3 separate regions of the Homo sapiens genome follow, and regions 1 and 3 are each linked to region 2. The links are contacts of gene promoters, found by promoter capture Hi-C in blood cells and fetal thymus (Javierre and others, 2016). All regions are on one chromosome and are shown on one strand. Each heading gives the region's core, a stretch centred on a gene start or on the middle of the fragment in contact. The rest is flanking DNA. Distances are from core to core; before and after follow the strand shown.

Region 1 (3,250 bases), core at 232-2,731, 160 kb before region 2:
TCATTTTTGCATATATTTGGTGTTTCATTGTAAAAACATTTAAATGCTCATTTAAATCTCTGTGGATGCTCTTGAATTATCCTCCAAAAAGACTGTGTCATTTTATACTTCTGCCTACAGTGTGTGAGACTAGCCATTACCCCACACTTTCACCATGACAAATGTTGTTGGACTTTGTATACTTGACCATCTGACAGTTGTTCAAATGTCCCCTCCTGTGATAACAAATACAGGTCTAGGTATGAGTCTTTGCATTGGTCCTTCAGGGCAATTTGCGGGCATTAGATGTGAAGGCTAAGTCTGCCTGCAGCTCAGGGGAAGGGCTTTCTATTAAGTCTGTGCTTATTTCCTTTCCTTTTCTGTCTCTGTTCTTTCTCCTGAAAGGACCTTGTATTATCAGAATGTTTACAGTAGCAGGTGATGGAAACACAGACATTACCAACTTAGGCAAAAAAGAGGAAGCATTGGCTCACGTAACTGGGCATTCCCACCTTGCTGAATCCAAGGGCCCAACACTTTTCCCTTTGTCTGGTCTTCTGCTTCCTCTCTTTCTCTACCCTCTTTCCCCCTTCTCTACCTCCATCCCAGCCCCAACCCATCTACTGCTCTTTTTTTGTGGGCCCTTCTCTCCCCTATTGACAAGGGCCCTTCGCACTCTGCCTTGGGGAGAGGCCACTTAGAGCTCCAGGCTCACACACTCCCACCTTAACAATCTCTGAGAGCCAATCTGGCTCTTTGCAGAGATAGGCCCTGATTGCTCTTGCTCTTGTGTGGGTCATGTACCCGCCCCTTCCCCTGCTGGGTGACAGGGAGGATCTGTCTCCAGAAGAGGCAATCATGTTTCGAAATTTCAAGCTTTGTTGTTCTTGCGTCTTTCCTTTTCTATAGTAATCTGTTATAGTCTTATCAATGCAACAGCCTCTCAGATTCCCCCAAGAAAATGAATTTCTGTTTTCCCAGATGTTGGAGTTCTTCTTTACTTTTTGAGTTTTCTTCTGCTTCTAGTAATCTTTGCCTGTCCAGTCCTGTTTTTGAATGGAGGAGGAAGTTGATTTGCATAAGGAGCTGGTGTTGTAAGTTTCTTCTGAGTAAAAGGGGGTAGATGTGGAGAGCACCCCTATTCTAAGGGATGAAGTACATGTGAGTCACCACCCTCAGAGCACACAGCTAGCCTGAATCCATCAGAGAAAGGGACCTTTGGGGAAAACAGCCCTAAACAAACAGTGGAGAAAACCCATACTGGGCAGCTACACAAATCAATTCGTGCCTTCATTCATAAATAAGAATGAAGGAATAGCATCTTTCTGGTTGTTTCCTCCTCATGACAGTTGAGAGGTCCAGTGTTACTGCAGGCTCTGCCCTGGCCTCTCTCCAGCGTGATACCCACAGTCTTCAGTGGGGGCAAATACTGTGGCAGCCCAGTCTTTTTCTTAATTTTCAATTTTAATTTTTATTATTTGTACAAATTTATGGGGTACATGTGCAATTGTGTTATGTGCGTAGATTATATAGTGGTCAAGTCAGGGCTTTAGGGTATCCATCACCCAAATAGCATACATTGTACTCATGAACTAATTTCTCATCACCCATTTCCCTCCTATGCCCTCACCCTTCCGAGTCTCCGTTGTCTATCATTCCAATCTCTATGTCCATATGTACACGTTTTTAGCACCCACTTGAGTGAGATCATGTGATATTTGACTTCTGTGCCTGGGGCAGCCCACTCTTCCATGTGTTGCTCTGAGCTCTGGGGCTGGAGCCCTGACCTGGCTAAGCCAATGGATCTTCAGCAGTGCTTTGCTCAGCTCCCCCGCCCTTTGATGCCCTCATTCCATCATTAAGGATTGCATTGCACGTAACCTGTGCAGGGATTTCAAGCAGCAGTTTTGTTCTCCTCTGTTTTATCAGTTAACCTGATCACATTATTTCTTTCTCCTATTTTCTTTTCCTTGTTTGCATAACATTTTATTTGCTTTATTATCTTTTACTTCAAAATTTTCACAAATAGGGCATTTGCTAGATATTACATTTCTTTGCATTCACAATTTGTCTGTTTGGCACAAAGCTAGCTTTCTGCCTGTGTCAGCTTTGAATGTGCCTTCCTCACTAAGCTTAATCATTTTTTAGCTTAATCATTTTGATTTAAAGTGAGATACGTACGACTCTTCTTTTCACTTGAAGACTTAGAGGCTATTGTAGGGTTATCAGTTGGTCTAATTTCAATATTGTTGTGTCTCAAGGAATAGGGAGGCCTGAGGAGAGGGAGAGAGACGGAAATGACCAGTAAGTAGAGCAGTCAAAATGCACACAGCATTTACCAGTTGAGCCCATTATCGTATATGATTGCTGTTTATGGCACCCCAAAACAATTACAGTAGTAACATCAAAGATCACTAATCACAGGTTACCATAACAGCTATAGCAAAAAAGTTTGCAAGACATGACACAGAGACATGAAATGAGGACATGCAATTGGAAAAATGACATTGATAGGCTTGCTCAATGCAGCGTTGTCACAAACCTTCGATTTGTAAAAATCACAGTATCTGTGAAGTACAATAAAGCAGAGCATAATAACATGAGGTATGTTTGTAACTGAATTTCTTATATAGGTCAATTTAGACTTTTTTCTTGGCCAGGCACAGTGGCTCATGACTGTAATCCCAGCACTTTGGGAGGCTGAGGTGGACGGATCACCTAAGGTCAGGAGTACGAGACCAGGCTAGCCAACATGGTGAAACCCCATTTCTACTAAAAATACAAAAATTAGCCGGGTGTGGTGGTGCACACCTGTAATCCCAGCTACTCGGGAGGCTGAGGCATGAGAATAGCTTGAACGTGGGAGGCAGAGGCTGCAGTGAGCCGAGATTGTGCCACTGCACTCCAGCCTGGGCAACAGAGCAAGACTCTGTATGCCCCACCCCATCCCCCCAAAAAAAGATTTTTTTTTTTTTCTCAGTTTTGGTAGTTTGCATCACTCTAGGAATTTAGGAATTTGTCCATTTTATCTGTGATGTAATTTGTTGGTACATAGTTGTTAGTGGTATTCTCTGATAATTATTTTTATTTCTGTATGATCAGTAGTGATGTCCCCACTTTCATTCCTGATTTCTCTAATTTGAATCTTCAGCAAATTTTTCTTGGTCAGTCTAGTCTAGCTAAAGGTTTATCAATGTTGGTGATATTTTCAAAGAACCAGCTTTTGCTTTTGTTGATTTTCTGTAATGTTTTTCTATTTTCTATTTCATTT
Region 2 (3,466 bases), core at 18-2,517:
CATGCCTTAAAATAGTTCAAAATTGAGAACATGAAAATGCTTTCTTATGCATACACAAGCAGACATGAATATGTGTATGCACCTGGTGTGTGTGTGGGCTGTGGTGGAGGCATACTTTGTCTTGTGTTCATTGTCACTGACATTGCTCAGGGAGGCTGGGGTACGTGCATTTGTTTTCATCTTTAGAGTGTGTTAATGGTTTCCTTCTTGATTAAAGTAGAGCTCAAAATGCAGCTCTGTCATTGCTCTGTATTCTTGGTTTGTCTTTGATGTTGAAAAGACAGTGCACTTGTGCTTTTGGTGGGGCTCCTGGCCTGCATGCTGCTTCCTAGGATTGGCAGGTATTGCATATCACCACATACCAGACACCCACAGGAGAGAAAAATCATCAGGATCAAGAGGCCAGATTGGGCTGCTGGCAAAGTTTATCTGCAGGCTAAGTGCTTGTTGCTCTCCTGCTTATCCATGCTGCCTAGTGTGGGCTGTCCCTAGAAGGGAATTCTGTGTCCCTCTGAGTGCTGCAACTACTCTCAGGGTTTTACTGTAGTGGTTTTACCTCGCCTATTGGTTGACCCATCTACCTGTCTCATTTGAGTTGAGTGTGAATTGTTTAGGATATTGCAATTAGAGGTGGTGCGGGCTGGCTGGTTGCTATAAGCCATCTTAACATTTGGCTAAGCTCACTCCTGTGTGCTGGGCCTGACAAGGTCCTCTTGGTTCCTCTTGTGATGACTGTATCTTTTACACAGTTAATAAAACATCCTCAGATGTTATAAGCTGGAGTGAACTATTTATTTTTCTATTTTTTTTATTTTACTTTAAGTTCTGGGATACATGTGCTGAATGTGCAGGTTTGTTACATAGATATACATGTGCCATGGTGGTTTGCTGCACCTATCAACCCATCATCTAGGTTTTAAGCCTCACATGCATTAGATATTTGTCCTAATGCTCTCCCTCCCCTTGTCCCCCACCCCCTGACAGGCCCTGGTATGTGATGTTCCCCTCCCTGTGTCCATGTGTTCTCATTGTTCAACTCCCACTTATGAGTGAGAACATGCGGTGTTTGGTTTTCTGTTCCTGTGTTAGTTTGCTGAGGATGATTGTTTCCAACTTCATCCATGTGGACTATTTTTTCATCATATTCTACCCTTCCCAAGTCACACCTAGGGGGCTGAGGAGTGACAGGTGGAGCAGGGCAAGGCTGGATTAAACATTAATGCAGCTATCACCACTGCCCAGAGGAGCAAGTTCCCAGAGCCAAGCTACAGAGCTACCCTAGTGTCCCCAGGCTGAGGAGGTAGTGACTGGCATACATGGCTCAGTTTGTCCAGGTCCTGGCTGAAATAGGTGACTTTGGTCGCTTCCAGATACAGCTATTGATCCTGCTGTGTGTTCTCAACTTCCTGTCTCCCTTCTACTTTTTTGCCCATGTCTTCATGGTCCTAGATGAGCCCCACCACTGTGCAGTGGCTTGGGTGAAGAACCACACTTTCAACCTGAGTGCTGCTGAACAGCTGGTACTGAGCGTGCCCCTGGACACTGCAGGTCACCCAGAGCCCTGCCTCATGTTCCGGCCACCCCCCGCCAATGCCAGCCTGCAGGACATCCTCAGCCACCGCTTCAATGAGACGCAGCCTTGTGATATGGGCTGGGAATATCCTGAGAACAGGCTCCCATCCCTGAAGAATGAGGTAGGCTTGTCCTTTTGCTGGTCTCTCCACCGGTTGTGGGTCTGTCAGGTCTTGTGCCTGACTCTTCGCCCTCAGTCACTGGCTCTGTATCTGCCCCATGCCCATATGGTCAACCATGGGCACATATGTTTTTCATTTTGTCAATCTCATTTTCCTCTTTGTCCTCTGCCTATTGACCCATCTGTCTGTCATCTTCTCTGTCCAGTCTGTCTGCCCATCTGTCCATTTTTTGCCCATCCTTCTGTCGTCTCTGTCTTTCCTTGTCTCTCTGGCTATCTACCCAGTTGGTGTCCTCTCCTCTTTTCCTATCTTTGTGCCTTTCTCTCTACCCAGTGTGCTCATCTGTCTGTCCAGTTCTCTTTGTCTTTCAGTCTACCCCTGCATGTCTGCCTATGTTCCTATTTTCCTAACCCTCTAATGCCATCCCTTTCCCTGTCCATTTCACTGCCTTCCTGCTTGCTGGGCTTCAAAACTTTCAGCTTTTCTCTCTAGGTCTCTGCCAGCCTGCCCTTGGGACGCTGGAGAACATCCAGGACTCTAGGACTTGTCCTGTGGATAACTAAGCGTTCATTCTTGCTAACTTCATTCTTTTAGGAGAGATGCAGGCAGAAAAGTTCCCATCCTAGCCACCTCCGAGCAAGAGGGGCCCTCTGAAAGCATCCAGTCCCACTCTGTTGCTTCCCAGATGTTGGGGTTGAGGCACAGAATGAGGATATGGCTTAGCCAGGGCAATGCAGTGAGCTGATCATGGAGCTGGGGCTCTCATGCCAGATACCTGCTGTCTAGATTCCCACAGGAGTGTGAGGCAGCACAGATAGTCCAGAAACCTGAGGGGCATGGGTGCTTGAGGGGATCTGTATAATTCTCATCTTCTTTATGGTGGAAAATCTGGGATTAAACATTCACTTCTTCCCCACCCCATGGCTGAAAAAGTATTTATTTTTAGAGGTTGTCAGAGACCAATGTGTTAACCAAAGCTTAACTTTCACTTTTTAATGTGTGACCATAAAACTGCTCCCAGAAGCCTGGCAGCCTGCGGATATGTCCTGCCTGTCCTTCTCCCAACTCTCCCCCACCCCACCCCACCCCACACCACAGGGAGCTCTAGGGAGCCTGTGCATGCTCCCAGGCTCTGAGGCTGGCCAGCTTAGCCCCTTCTGACCCTTACTGTCCTCTCCATCATCTCCCCAGCATCACATCCATGGCTGGTGCCAGCCTTCACCAGCCCTAACGTGTTGTGATATGCCTGTATGTGTTAAACTCTCTGCCCACCTGGCCAAATATCATCATTCTCAAAGCCCAGAAAACCTTCCAGATTGCTCACAGACTACTCTAGGCCTTCTTCACACCCCATGCTGGACTGTTCATGCAACCGTATTCAGCCAAAGGCCCCTGAGGATTAACTGTGCGGGGAAGTCAGAGGGGAAAGGTACTTTGTTCCTCTAGTGGTCAGGAAAGGTCTGGGCCCCTTGCAGAGGAATAAAGGGCTGGGCGGGTTCTAAGGCCCAGAATTTGCTTCCTCCTGGTTCCGGGGGAATGGGCAGGCAACTTTCTGAAGGAAGTGGTATGTGTGAACTGGGGCACCAAGATACTAGAAAAATGTTGCTAGAGAAGAGGGGAAGGCCTCTGCAGGTGGAGAATAAGAATAGCACAGGAAAGGCCTGGCAGCAGGAAGCAGGCAGGATGTCTGGGGAGCAGTGGGTGTGCCTGCAATGGGGTCAGGGTGGAGGGGTAGGGGTATAGGAATTAGATGGATGTTTTCAAGGATTTGG
Region 3 (3,348 bases), core at 603-3,102, 210 kb after region 2:
GTAATGTTTTATTTCTCATACAAGTGTTCATTGTGTTATTTCCTCTTGAGATTATTTTTGGTTATATTATTGGTACACTTTTTGGATGTCTGAAATAATCCTTTAAGCAACAACAGGCCATTAGTCAAGGGTGGTTAAGTTAGGTGGCAGGGGAAGCACAAGGGCCAGTGGAAATAGAGAGTTTGCCTGGTCTCAGGGGAGAGGGAAGAGCCGAAATCAGAGGAAGGTGGGTAACCTTACGGCCAGAGGTGGTAACTTCCGACTTACGCTAAGCCTAGAAGCCAAACACATTCAAGGGTGTGACATTATGGTGTGGCTGCAGTGAGGGGAGGAAGGTAGGGGAGTGCCCAGCTTCCCTGTCTGCAGTGCAGCTTCATGGCTGGCCCCACAAGTCTCAGGTCTCCACGGACCCCCACTAGAACTGCTGCCGTGGATGCAGTGGGGCCCAGCCTGGGGAGAGGAGGCCCTGTGGCCTCTGGGCAGGGTGCTTCGAATAACCCAGTAATTGGGTGCTGCTGCAGGCAGACAGGGACAATGTAGGTGCAAGCCTCAGTCCTGGCCCCGGTGTGCTTGTTCAGCCTTTGGTCTACTACCCCCACCCCACCCTCTCAGGTTCTCCCTCTAAACCTTAAAGCCACATGCTTGATGAAGGGCCTGGCTGGGGAAGCCAGTGTGTACCCTTGTAAGCCTCTCTGTGGACCCTGAGGCCCTTCCTTTAGAAGAGGCTGAGTCCCAGCTGACTGACTGGTCAGGAGGCCATGCATTTTCCTTTCACAGGTGTCAGAGCCTAGGCCACCTGGTGCAGGATGACCAGAGCTGTGGCTGGGCACTGCCATTCTGATTGGGTGACATTTCGGACCCTTAGGTGCTACCTGGATCCTTGAGATTCGTTGCTTGCTCCTGCCCCTGGAAGAAGCATCCTGTCACTTCAGGGAGTTGCAGAAAGGGGTTGGGTTTGACAGGAGAATGGCCGCTCCAGTGGTGGGGGGCTTCTTTCACCTGACAGCCAGTCAGTATCCTTCTCTCTGGGGTATACCCTGGGAAATCAAGCTCTTTCCTCATGAAGGCCAACAGTAGGGGTGGAGATGAGCGTGAGGATGTCCTTAGGCTACGCTAGTGTTCAGGGTACTTTGCCCTCCCCCAGGGTCAGGGCAGGGTTCGTGTTCTTTCCTACTCCAGTCAGCCTTTCAGGCTGATGGCGAAGTAGGGCTCTTGGCTGCTGGTGGGCTGGCTGTCTGGTGGGATTGACTCTGACCCCTCCCTCCTTCCTGGGATGGGAATAGTGGTAGGAGAAGACCAGCCAGGAGTGGTGCCAGGTCACTGGCCTATGTGGGCCCAAAAAGTGTGGATAGGATGGCTGGATGCTTGGTGCAACTATCCTCTCGGGTGTCTGTGTGGGGTTCTGGCAGTGAGGTTGTAAATGCCACCACCTGCCTCCATTGTGGGCGGCCTATAATGGGGTGCTGGCAGAGCTCTCAGACAGAACCGAACCTCCTTTGGCATCTCCATACTCTTTCCTATGTCAGGGCTATGTGGTTCCTGCGGGTAGTGGGAGTAGACTGGGGCTGGGACTGGAGGTTGTTTTGTAGGGGATGGTGAGGAAGATGGATTTGGGGAATGTTTGAAATCAAGTTTGAAGGAAAGTGTTTGAATGGGCAGGTGGGGGTTGAAGTCGTTGTCCACCTGGATGGCACTTCCTGCAGCAGGTGGAAGGGGGTTCAGAAGTGATGGGGAGTGCCCTGGGGTCATCAGGAGCCTAGCCAGGAGAATGATCTGTGATTGCAGGTTAAGCCACCAGCTAGCTCTCCTCTGCCTGAGGCATGTATTCCCCTTGGTGACTCTGGGAGGCTTACCCTGTACACGCAGGCCTCATTCCTTAAGTTCTCCAGCCCTGCCGAGCACCAGGTGTGGTTGCTGGGTGTAGAAAGGACACTTACAGGGTCCTTTCCATTCCGTATGGGCAGGGAGTTGTGGAGGACCCACTGGCATGGTCTCCCTGGGGAACTGTTGTGAGAAGGGGGCTTGGGGGCAGAGACAGGAGCAGCAGGAAGCCACTCCCCTTTGTAGTTTTCCCAGGTGGTCCTTGAGATCTTTATCACAATCACCTGAGACAGACAGGGGTGATTAAAAGCACATATTCTGCCCCCATTCCCATTGGGATGGGTCTGGATTGGGCCTGGAAATACGTATTTGAATGAACACTGCTCCCCTTTCCCACACCTGCAACATACAGTGATTCCGATGTGCACTGGGGTTTTAAGGGGGCCTCTTCATCGGTTTCTGCTGCAGCAGGGAAGTAGCCCCCACCCCCACGCAGGAGCCTCAGGTGTTGGTGCCCTTTCTGTGCATCTGGACTCTGTCTGTCTGGCTGTTTATCCATCCTTCTGTGGCATTAGGTTTCCTGCCTCCTCCCTTTTGCTTAGGCCTAGGGGCAGCTGTGATGGGCTGCAGAATGAGGTGGGGGCTGGTGCCAGCTGGCACACGTAAATTAAGAGGTGTGGGACGGATGGGTGGCCTACGTCCAGGGGTGAGTGCAGGAGGTTGGTGACCCCAACCCACCACCCGGCCTCCCTCCCTCAGGGTGGCCTGGCACCCAGGACTGGGAGTAGGGGTTTGGGTGGTGGTCCCAGGGGCATGCTCAGTGGTTCTCTTTTCTCTGGGGCACAGGCTCTGGGCGTGGGGAGGCTGAGACACGGGAGTGCATCTACTACAACGCCAACTGGGAGCTGGAGCGCACCAACCAGAGCGGCCTGGAGCGCTGCGAAGGCGAGCAGGACAAGCGGCTGCACTGCTACGCCTCCTGGCGCAACAGCTCTGGCACCATCGAGCTCGTGAAGAAGGGCTGCTGGCTAGATGACTTCAACTGCTACGATAGGTACCCCAAGACTTGCCCTCCTTTCCTCTTGGACCCACCTGCGCTTATACTGCCCACTGGGCCATTTGGGTCTCAGGATGTCTGAGTGGGAGATAAAGGACCAAGAAGGGGCTCTTGAGATGGTAGCCATGGCCCCACGCCCTTCCACACCCTATTTGTCCTACCTTAGCCCTGAGGAGGGGTCTCAGTGTCAACCCCTGGCTGTTCTTCCTTGGCTTTGGGTCTCCTGTAGGGGAGGTGAGTTCACACCGTCCCCCTGGTGTTGCCCATGAGGTGCTCTGTCTGTGAGGAGGGGTTGGCAGGGCAGGCCTGGGGGAGTCTTGCATCCCCCAGGTGAGGGGTATATGGAAAATTCTGTGCCTCCAGGCAGGAGTGTGTGGCCACTGAGGAGAACCCCCAGGTGTACTTCTGCTGCTGTGAAGGCAACTTCTGCAACGAACGCTTCACTCATTTGCCAGAGGCTGGGGGCCCGG

Evidence for each region. Contacts are between HindIII fragments. The CHiCAGO score rates a contact against its expected background, and 5 or more counts as called.
Region 1: a fragment that was not itself captured here is called in contact with the fragment with the promoter of SLC22A13 in region 2 in 2 of 17 cell types (erythroblasts and M1 macrophages); the score reaches 5.3 in erythroblasts.
Region 3: a contact is called between a fragment that was not itself captured here and the fragment with the promoter of SLC22A13 in region 2, in 1 of 17 cell types (M1 macrophages). The highest score is 5.5, in M1 macrophages.

What each region holds. Positions count from the first base shown.
Region 1 is chr3:38,101,542-38,104,791 of GRCh38, forward strand. The region is part of intron 19 of DLEC1 (DLEC1 cilia and flagella associated protein); the gene reads left to right. It overlaps LOC105377033 (a long non-coding RNA gene), which reads right to left. Exons shown (of 2, transcript XR_940727.3): 2 at 1,949-2,252. Among named protein-coding and RNA genes, the nearest start is that of ACAA1, 34 kb to the right of the region's middle. The HindIII fragment of the contact is 1,256 bases long and covers 854-2,109 here.
Region 2 is chr3:38,264,545-38,268,010 of GRCh38, forward strand. SLC22A13 (solute carrier family 22 member 13) reads left to right here and starts at 1,268. Exons shown (of 10, transcript NM_004256.4): 1 at 1,268-1,694. The coding sequence starts at 1,317. RefSeq lists a silencer at 254-548. The HindIII fragment of the contact is 6,926 bases long and covers 1-2,669 here.
Region 3 is chr3:38,474,620-38,477,967 of GRCh38, forward strand. ACVR2B (activin A receptor type 2B) reads left to right here. Exons shown (of 11, transcript NM_001106.4): 2 at 2,668-2,875; 3 at 3,242-3,348. Among named protein-coding and RNA genes, the nearest start is that of EXOG, 20 kb to the right of the region's middle. RefSeq lists an enhancer at 1,933-2,432. The HindIII fragment of the contact is 9,698 bases long and covers 1-3,348 here.